Linked DNA regions of Homo sapiens: all the other regions are linked to region 2. Evidence: promoter capture Hi-C in 16 types of primary human blood cells and fetal thymus (Javierre and others, 2016). All regions are on one chromosome and are shown on one strand. The core of a region is centred on a gene start or on the middle of the fragment in contact, and the rest is flanking DNA. Distances in the headings are between cores, read along the strand shown.

Region 1 (3,074 bases), core at 379-2,878, 7.9 Mb before region 2:
CATATCCATTCGCTGTTGCCCTACGGTAGCCCGCACTATCTGCACAGGCTCTGCCTGCCATCCCTGTCTGATCTGCATAAGGCCCACCGCTTAGACCCCTAAGCAAGCCTCTCTGGCCCGTAGCCCACAGACCTCGCCCCTTCCCCGCTCCCTATCACCTGCAAGCTCCGCCCAAGCAAGGCTCGGTCTCGGATTCTCACCCGGGCAGGGGGGCGGCCCGAAGCGTTGCAGGCAGCTGCTGCAGCACTTGTTGTCTGGGTTCCAGTATTCAAGGCGGCCGCAGTACTGGGAGGCTTCCGGCGGTGGCGCCAGGGCCAGAAGCAACAAGGCCGTCAGGAGGCATCGTCCAGGCCCCATCTGGGGGGCCGTGATAGCGGGACTTCCAAACACAGCGCCTCTGCTACACTTTCCGGGGAAATCGGGCAGAAGAAAGGACGCGGTGATGTGGGGGAACAGAATTCTCACGCCTCTTCGGAAGCCGGGAATCTACCCCCGAGCCCTCATCCCCCAACTGAGCCGGTTATCAGAGAAGCCCACAAGGCCACTAGGGGACTAACAGGGCTGCGGATCTAGATTGCAAGAATGCATATCCCACCTCTGCCGTGTCCTCACCCACCCACCCTCCCTTTTCCATCCCTAAAATAAGACAATGATAGCACCTGTCTCATAGGGTTATTGTGGAGAATTAGAACCGTCATTAGAAGTAAAGCAGGGGCTGGGTGTGGTGGCTCATGCCTGTAATCCCAACACTTTGGGAGGCCAAGACAGGAGGATCACTTGAGCCCAGGAGTTCGAGAGATCAGCCTGGACAACAAAATGAAACCCCATCTTTACAAAAAAAAAAAAAAAAAAAAAAAACAGCAAAGCACTTTGCCAAGTGCAGTGGCTCACGTCTGTAGTCCCTGCTACTAGGGAGGCCAAGGTAGGAGGATTGCTTGAGCCATGAATTACAGACCAGCCTGGGCAACACAGCAAGACCTCATCTCTAAAAACAAAAAAAACTGGCCGCCGGGCGCAGTGGCTCATGCCTGTAATCCCAACACTTTGGGAGGCCCAGGTGGGTGGATCACCTGAGGTCAGTAGTTCAAAACCAGCCTGGCCTACATGGTGAAACCCTGTCTCTATTAAAAATACAAAATTAGCCGGGCGTGGTAGCGCATGCCTGTAAATCCCAGCTACTTGGGAGGCTGAGGCAGAATTGCTTGAACCTGGGAAGTGGAGGCTGCAGTGAGCTGAGATCGTGCCATTGCACTCCAGCCTGGGCAACAGGAATGAAACTCCTTAAAAAAAACAAAAACAAACTAAAGTGCTGAAAACAGCACCTCACATACAGTAAACTCAGTGTTTAAGTGTAAGGCATTACTAACTCCCATCACAATTCGGCAGGCACGGAGGAGTCAGCCCCATACTGGCTGGAGACCACCTCCCAGCACCTCACCTCACCTTTGAATCCTAATCTCCTTGGGGCTAGGGCTCCTCCCACCTGCCACAACCAGGTCTCTCCCCCTTGAATAAGCCTCAGATGGAGGTGCTAAGGTTTTCAGCACAAAGGTGTCCCCACCCTACCAGTACCGTTAGGGTCCTGGGTCCCAAGCTGGCCGTGCCAAGTTCCTCAGCTGAAGTTGTGGCCAGGACCCAGTCTTGTTTCCCCTTTTCGTCACATGTGTGGGTGGAGGGAAATGCCAAACCACAGCAAAAGCAAGTTGATGCCGAAGTGAAACACGCAGCTTTATTAAGACAGGGGCGGTAGAAGAAGGTCTCCATGCTGAACAGATTACATTATGGAGCCCGGGAGCCTGGGAAGGATGGGGCAGGAGAGTGAAGGGGGCTTTGAGGAGAGGTCCTGCCAGGAACATCTGTCCCTGTTGGGGGTGAAGGGTAAGGGGGCCAGGGCCTCAGAAGCGGCCATGCCAGTGATCAGGGGAACACCGATGGTTCCTCTCTCGGGGATGGTGGCCAGTATGGAACCTCGGGGGTGACCTGGGAATAGGAGCGTTGAGAGTTCTGTTAGAACCCTGAGGAGTGGTGCAGAGATCCTGCAGGCCTGCCTCTCTGCTCTGGGATGAGGCAGGAGGGTGCTGAAATAACTAGAGTTCTAAGACACGACCTCAGTGGCCAGTATCAGGGGAACTCAGTGGCCAGTATCAGGGGTGGCAATCCAGGCTGGTCGTGGATTAGGGGTTCAGGCTGGTTTGGGGATTGGGACTTAGGTACTGGTCTCCAGATGGAGCTCAGAACTACTCTTAGGGTATAAGAGTCTTGGGAATGACCGGGCGCAGTGGTTCACGCCTGTAATCCCCACACTTTGGGAGGCCGAGATGGGTGGATTACCTGAGGTCCGGAGTTCGAGACCAGGCTGGCCAACGTGGTGAAACCCCATCTCTACTAAAAATACAAAAATTAGCCAGGCATGGTGGCAGGTGCCTATAATCCCAGCTACTTGGGAGGCTGAGAAAGGAGAATTGCTTGAACCTGGGAGGCAGAGGTTGCACTGAGCCAAGACTGCGCCTTTGCACTCCAGCCTGCGGAAGAAGAGCAAAACTCCGTCTCAAAAAAAAAAAAAAAAAAAAAAAAAAAAAACAGTCAGCCGGGAGTGGTGGCTCACGCCTGTAATCCCAGCACTTTGGGAGGGTGAGGCAGGTGGATCACGAGGTTAGGAGTTCAGACCAGCCTGGCCAAGATGGTGAAACCCCATCTCTACTAAAAACACAAAAATTAGCCGGGCATGGTGGCAGGTGCCTGTAATCCCAGCTATTTGGGAGGCTGAGGCAGAGAATTGCTTGAACCCGGGAGGCGGAAGTTGCCATGAACCAAGATGGTGCCAATGCACTCCAGCCTGGGCAACAGAGTGAGGCTCCATCTCAAAAAAAAAAAAAAAAAAAAAAGATTCTTGGGAACGTGGTTACTGGGGCTTAGGGTTAGGCTCATCTGAGGATATAGGGGCCTTAGGACATGAGGAGACATAGCAGGCTGGTCCTGAGGTACCTGCGCCTGGGTCCCCGCCCATAGAGCTGCCTCTGGAGGTTCTGGGAAATGGGCCGCAGATGCATGAAGTTGCAGAAGCCACCTCGGGT
Region 2 (3,277 bases), core at 327-2,826:
GAGACGGAGTCTTGCTCTGTCGCCCAGGCTGGAGTGCAGTGGCACGATCTCGGCTCACTGCAAGCTCCGCCTCCTGGGTTCACGCCATTCTCCTGCCTCAGCCTTCCGAGTAGCTGGGACTACAGGCGCCTGCCACCACGCCCGACTATTTTTTGTATTTTTAGTAGAGATGGGGTTTCACCGTGTTAGCCAGGATGATCTCGATCTCCTGACCTCGTGATCCACCCGCCTCGGCCTCCCAAAGTGCTGGGATTACAGGCGTGAGCCACCGCGCCCAGCCTACTTATTTATATTTTTTAAGAGACAGGGTCTCGCTCAGTTGCCCAGGCTGGAGTGCAGTAGGGTGATCTGTAGGAAAGGGGCTTCCAGGCCTTAACTCATGTACTCCCCCATAACCAGGTTGGGAGGTTAGCTCACTGTAACCTCAAACTCCTGTGCTCAAGGTACCCTACTAGCCCCTAGGAGAGCAGCTGGGACTACAGGTATGCGCCACCATGCCAGGCTTAATTTTTACTTTTTTTTTTTTTTTTTTTTTTTGTAGAGACGGGGGTCTCACTATATTGCCCAGGCTGGTCTTGAACTCCTGGTCTCAAGCGATCCTCCTGCCTTAGCCTCCCAAAGTATTGGTATCACTGCAACTAGCCCAAAGAATTAATATAGCTATGTTCCATGTGATATTTGGGACATACTTTTCTAAAAGGTTGTATCTTTTGGATATAATTGTTTATCTGAAATTCAAATTTAACTAGACATTGTATATTTTATACGGCAACCACACACCTGGGACAATCAAGACATTCCCTGAAGTTACCAGGAGACAATGCCCATCAGCCTACACTTTTCCAAGCCCACGTCACACAAGGCCCCTTCCAGAGTATTCCAGACGTCAGGTAGGGCCATCCCTTGGTTCACAAGTCCCACTCCTACCACGCCTATGGCAGCCAAACTGAAAGGCAAACACAGTGCTGGAGACCCCACAATGCCCTGGGCCTATAGCAGTCAATTCCCAAGATGCCCCGCGTGAACACAATAGGCACCCGTTCCAATGCTCGAGCAAAGAGACCAGGGCAAAACCTTCCACTACGGGACAATAACGGCCAGTTCCCACAATTCGTTGTGGCAGTTCTTCCCAGGATGCCTTAGGCCTATAGCGACCACCTTCCCAGACTCCCCGTGTGGAAGCGCTCCAAGCCTCCAGGACGGTCAGCGGCAGGTGTGGGATAAAAGGAACCGGTCTCGACAAGGATCTGGGACACTCTTTCCCAGGATGCACCAGGCCTACGACTAGCGGACCGACTCCCACAGCGCTTCAAGGCGGAGCGCTCGGTTCTCCCAGGATGCCCCAGGGCGGCACAAACGCGTAGGGGGAGAAAAAGAAGCCCTCGGGTCACCACGGCCCCAGACCGCCGGCTCCCCGGTGACGGGAGTCGTCGCTCCCATCATGCAGCGGGGCCGTAGCGCCCGCTTCCCGGCATGCCTCGCGCACCCCTGCCCGGGACACTCACCGGCGCCGGCGGCCCCCGCTCCGGCTCTGCGGCGGCGGCTGCACGCCCAGCCTCTGCGCCTGCGTCGCAAGTAGGGTAGGACAGCGCGCAGGGGGCGTGAAGAGCCTAGGGCGCTTGCGCGGCGAGACGGACTAGTCCTGTAGCGCTGTGGGAAGAGGGGCTATGCGCGTCGGGCCGTCGACGAGACCCGCGCGGGGGGCGCCGTGCTTTGCCCCTCGCTGCCTGGGTTTACTTGGTACAGCCCGCGGCCCAAAGGAACAAGAAGCTGAAGGGTTCGCGCGTGCGTGTGCGGGGCAGGAACGCGCCTTACAAAACTGGGATGCGCTGGGGGTGGAGGGCGCTAGTTCGGACTGGATCCTGGGCCCGAGGCCTGCTTATTTGCATAATCCTAGCGCGGGACAATGAAAGGCCTCCCGCACTGGAAGGAGTGATTTGCATATTCCCCGGAGGGGCCTTACTCCAGAGCGCAGTGATTAGCATATGGCGGGGGCAACCTGAGCAAAGCGCATGCGCGCAGGGACTGCAGACTGACGCGAAGTGGGTAGCCTTGTCTTCGTAGGGGATCAGTTTGCATCCTGAGAGAGGGCACGAGGGCCAGGACCCCTCCCAACCAGGATAAAGGTTTATTGATCTCCTAGGTGTCAGGCCCCATGCTGGCGGATTCTGTGGTTTCTGCAGTGAACCATACTCCTGTACTCACGGCACCCCAGTCGAAGGAGATACGCACCTAATTAGACAACTACTACCCAGAAGGTCAGACCTGGAGTGAGGAACACAGGGGGCTGTGGGAGCCTAAGAGGCGCTTGCCCCGGCCTCTGGTTCTAGAAAGACTTCCAGGAGGTGGTGATCCTTAAGCCAAGTACGAATAGGAGCCAACTAGAATGGGAATGGGTCTGGCAGAATGAACTGCAAGCGCCAAGGCCCAGAGGCCAAAAAAAAAAAAAAAAAAATAGAAGCGCATGTTTTGATTGAGGAAGCAAGAGCAGCTTAGTATGCCTAGAACCTAACTGGAGACGGGAAATGGTTCTATAGACGATGTTAGAGTTCAACTATGGCTACATTCCAGTCTTCCTGTAAGTGACTTTGTCACATTCTGGCTTAAAACTCCCCCAAAGGGATCCCATTAGGAAAAAAAAAAAATCCAAAAATCTTTATCATGGCCTCAGGGCTATACACCTGGTCTGGCCGTGCTTATCTTTCTGACCCCACCTACTTCCTCCTCCCTCCATTTCTGTCCAGCTCCACCTTACCCCAAACTCTTTACCAGCTCGGGCCTCTGCTCTTGCCGTTCCCTCCGCCTGAAAATGCTTTTCCCTCTGACCTTTGAATACCTACTCTTGTGCTCACCATTCATATCTTGGTACAGATGTCAATCTGAGAGGCTTTTCCTGATCTCTCCATAATAGCACTTACACATTTGACTGGAGTTATGGATAAATCGGGATTGGCCATGAGTTGGTGGTGGTTGTAACTGGCATGAAGAGTACATGGGGCTGGGCGCGGTGGCTCACGCCCGTAATCCCAGCACTTTGGGAGGCCGAGGCTGGTGTATCACCTGAGGTCAGGAGCTTGAGACCAGCCTGGGCAACATGGTGAAACCCTGCCTCTATTAAAACTACAAAAATTAGCCAGGGGTTATGGGGGGTGCCTGTAATCCTTGCTACTTGGGAGGCTGAGGCACGAAGATCACTTGAACCCTGGAGGCAGAGGTTGCATTGAGTCGAGATTGAGCCACTGCACTCCAGCCTGGGCCACCCAGCGAGACTCTGGGT
Region 3 (2,943 bases), core at 14-2,513, 7.7 Mb after region 2:
CCACAGGCAGGACAGAATCCGAGATGAGAAGGTGGGACCCATAAGGGGCTTCCCACTCTGGCTGTGCCTCATGGAGAGGGTAACATTAAAAGATGGAGGACTGAGACCGGGCGCAGTGGCTCCTGTCTGTAATCCCAGAAATTTGGGAGGCCAAGGTGGGAGGATCACTTGTGCCCAGGAGTTGGATACTAGCCTGGGCAACAGGTTCTACAAACAACAACAACAAAAACAAAAACAGCTGGGCGTGGTGGCTCATGCCTGTAATCCCAGCACTTTGGGAGGCCAAGGTGGGCGGATCACCTGAGGTCAAGAGTTCAAGACCAGCCTGGCCAACATGGCAAAACCCCATCTCTACTAAAAATAAAAATAAAATAAAAAATTAGCCGGGCATGGTAGTGCACGCCTGTAATTGCAGCTACTCAGAGGCTGGGGCAGGGAGAATTGCTTGAACCCAGGAGGTGGAGGTTGTAATGAGCCAAGATTGCGCCACGGCACTCCAGCCTGGGCGACAGAGCAAGACTCCGCCTCAAAACAAACAAACAAACAACAACAAAAAAAAAAAAAAAAAAACAGCCAGGTATGGTGGCACACACCTGTAGTCCCAGCTACTCAGGAGGCTGAGGCGGGAGGATCACCTGAGCCCAGGAGGTCAAGGGTGCAGTGAGCCGTGATCATGCCACTACATGTAACCTGGGTGACAGAGCAAGACCTCATCTCAAAAAAGAAAAAGAAAAAGAAAAAGGAGAAAGAGGAGAAGGAGCTGGAAGAGGAGAGGAAAGAGAAAGAACTGTTATTTTCATCTCTCTCGTTGCCCAGGCTGGAGTGCAGAGGTGCCACCTTGCCTTACTGCAACCTCCACCTCCCGGGCTCAGGTGATCCTCCCACTTCAGCCTCCCCAGTAGCTGGGACCACAGGCGGGCACCATCATGCCGGGCTAATTTTTTTTTTTTTACTTTTTGTAGAGAAAGGATTTCCCCGTGTTTCCCAGGCTGGTCTGGAACTCCTGGCCTAAAGTGATCCGCCTGCTTCAGCCTACCAAAGTGATGGGATTACAGGTGTGAGTCGCAGTGCCTGGCCTTTTTTCTTAAAAAAAAAAACACAACATAGGAGTTGCCCCTTTAAGACAGAAAAGAACCTCATCCACCCATCAGTAAGAGGCCCCAAGCTTCTTGCTGTGAGTCAGGGAGGCTTCTGAAGGGCCTCAAGCCACATCTTGCTCTTGCTCTGGCAGAACTCCCAGCCCTAAGCTCCTGATTCCCAGGCTCCTGACTCCTGAGGAGAAAGGGTAAGAACTTTCCAGACACACACACACACACGCACGCACACACACCTGAGGAAACAAACTAGCTCATCTTCTCAATTAAGCTTGAGTTGATTTTAAGCTTCAAAAACAGTTTAGTTATATTACATAAGTCAGGAAACAATGGTAGGGCTGAAAAATGATAGCTTGTTTGTTTTTTAAATAATGATGGCTCATGCCTGTAATCCCAGCACCTTAGGAGACTGAGGAAGGAGGATCACTGGAGCCCAGGATTTCAAGACCAGCCTGGGCAACATAGAGAGACTTCATCTCTACCAAAAAACAAAATTAGCAGGTCATGGTGGCGTGCACCTGTAGTCCCAGCTACTGAGGAGGCTGAGGTGGGAGGACGGCTTGAACCCAGGAGGGTCGAGGCTGCAGCGAGCTGTGACTGTACCACTCTAGCCTGGGTGACAGAGCTAGACCTTGTCTCAAAAAGAAAAAAAAAAAGTTTTATAATTGAGGTAAATCATTCAGCATTAAGTGCTGGCTTTCTCTTAAAGAGACGACATATCCACCAATATCAAAAACAGCCTCAAAGCTGGGCGTGGCGGCTCACACCTGTAATCCCAGCACTTTGTGGGGCTGAGGTGGGTGGATCACTTGTGGTCAGGAGTTCGAGACCAGCCTGGCCAACATGGTAAAACCCCATCTCTACTAAAAATACAAAAATTAGTCGAGCGTTTTAGCACATGCCTGTAATTCCAGCTAGTTGGGAGGCTGAGGGAGGAGAATCACTTGAACCCGGGAGGTGGAGGTTGCAGTGAGCAGGGATCACATCAATGCACTCCAGCCTGGGTGACAGACCAGATTCTATCTCAAAAAAAAAAAAAGAAAAGAAAAAAAAAATTTTTTTAAAAGCAGCACTGACCCATGCAGACAACGAGTCAAGGGTTTTATATGCATTAACTCGTTTGACCATCCTAGTAGCCTGTGAGGTTGGTTACTGCCATTACCTCTCATTTTACAGATGAGGCAACTGAGGCACAGAGAGGCCAAGTACCTTGGCCAGGGCCACTGAGCATGGAAGTGGCAGGACCACGGGTCTAACCCCAAATCTGTCTTGGGAACTGTGAGACTCTGAAAGAGGCTACGTGTGCCCACGGTGTTAGGAGAGCCAGTCTTCCTATTTGTTGTCCACTGCAGGCAAGAGGGATTTTCTTCTCTTCTCTTTTCTTTCTCTCTTTCTCTCTCTCTCTCTCTCTCTCTTTCTCTTTCTTTTTGATACAGAGTCTTGTTCTGTTGCCCAGGCTGGGGTGCAGTAGTATGATCTTGGCTCACTGCAAACTCCACCTTCTGGGTTCAAGCGATTCTCCTGCCTCAGCCTCCCCAGTAGCTGGGACTACAGGCGCCTGCCACCACGCCTGGCTAATTTTTTGTATTTTTAGTAGAGACAAGGTCTCACCGTGTTAGCCAGGATGGTCTCAATCTCCTAACCTTGTGATCCACCCGCCTCAGCCTCCCAAAGTGCTGAGATTACACGTGTGGGCCACCGCGCCCGGCCCACGCCTGGCTAATTTTTTTATTTTTAGTAGAGATGGGGTTTCGTCATGTTGGCCAGGCTGGTCTCGAACTCCTGACCTCAGGTGATCCGCCCACCTCGGCCTCCCAAAATGCTGGAATTACAGGTGTGAGCCACCACG

What was found. The method cuts DNA at HindIII sites, captures the fragments that hold promoters and counts their contacts. A CHiCAGO score of 5 or more calls a contact.
Region 1: a contact is called between the fragment with the promoter of IGFLR1 here and the fragment with the promoter of ZNF428 in region 2, in 1 of 17 cell types (naive CD8 T cells). The highest score is 12.7, in naive CD8 T cells.
Region 3: a fragment that was not itself captured here is called in contact with the fragment with the promoter of ZNF428 in region 2 in 1 of 17 cell types (total CD4 T cells); the score reaches 7.8 in total CD4 T cells.

Annotation. Positions count from the first base shown.
Region 1 is chr19:35,740,824-35,743,897 of GRCh38, forward strand. It overlaps IGFLR1 (IGF like family receptor 1), which reads right to left and starts at 1,629. Exons shown (of 5, transcript NM_024660.4): 1 at 1,573-1,629; 2 at 201-400. The coding sequence starts at 357. U2AF1L4 (U2 small nuclear RNA auxiliary factor 1 like 4) reads right to left here. Exons shown (of 6, transcript NM_001040425.3): 5 at 2,986-3,074; 6 at 1,704-1,980. The coding sequence ends at 1,896. RefSeq lists enhancers at 1-34, 1,382-1,811. The HindIII fragment of the contact is 10,043 bases long and covers 1-3,074 here.
Region 2 is chr19:43,618,053-43,621,329 of GRCh38, forward strand. It overlaps ZNF428 (zinc finger protein 428), which reads right to left and starts at 1,577. Exons shown (of 3, transcript NM_182498.4): 1 at 1,506-1,577. LOC105372411 (a long non-coding RNA gene) reads left to right here and starts at 1,009. Exons shown (of 4, transcript XR_001753942.2): 1 at 1,009-1,580. RefSeq lists an enhancer at 936-1,586 and a silencer at 1,391-1,630. The HindIII fragment of the contact is 4,307 bases long and covers 1-3,277 here.
Region 3 is chr19:51,358,281-51,361,223 of GRCh38, forward strand. The region is part of intron 1 of ETFB (electron transfer flavoprotein subunit beta); the gene reads right to left. Among named protein-coding and RNA genes, the nearest start is that of ETFB, 6.6 kb to the right of the region's middle. The HindIII fragment of the contact is 200 bases long and covers 1,164-1,363 here.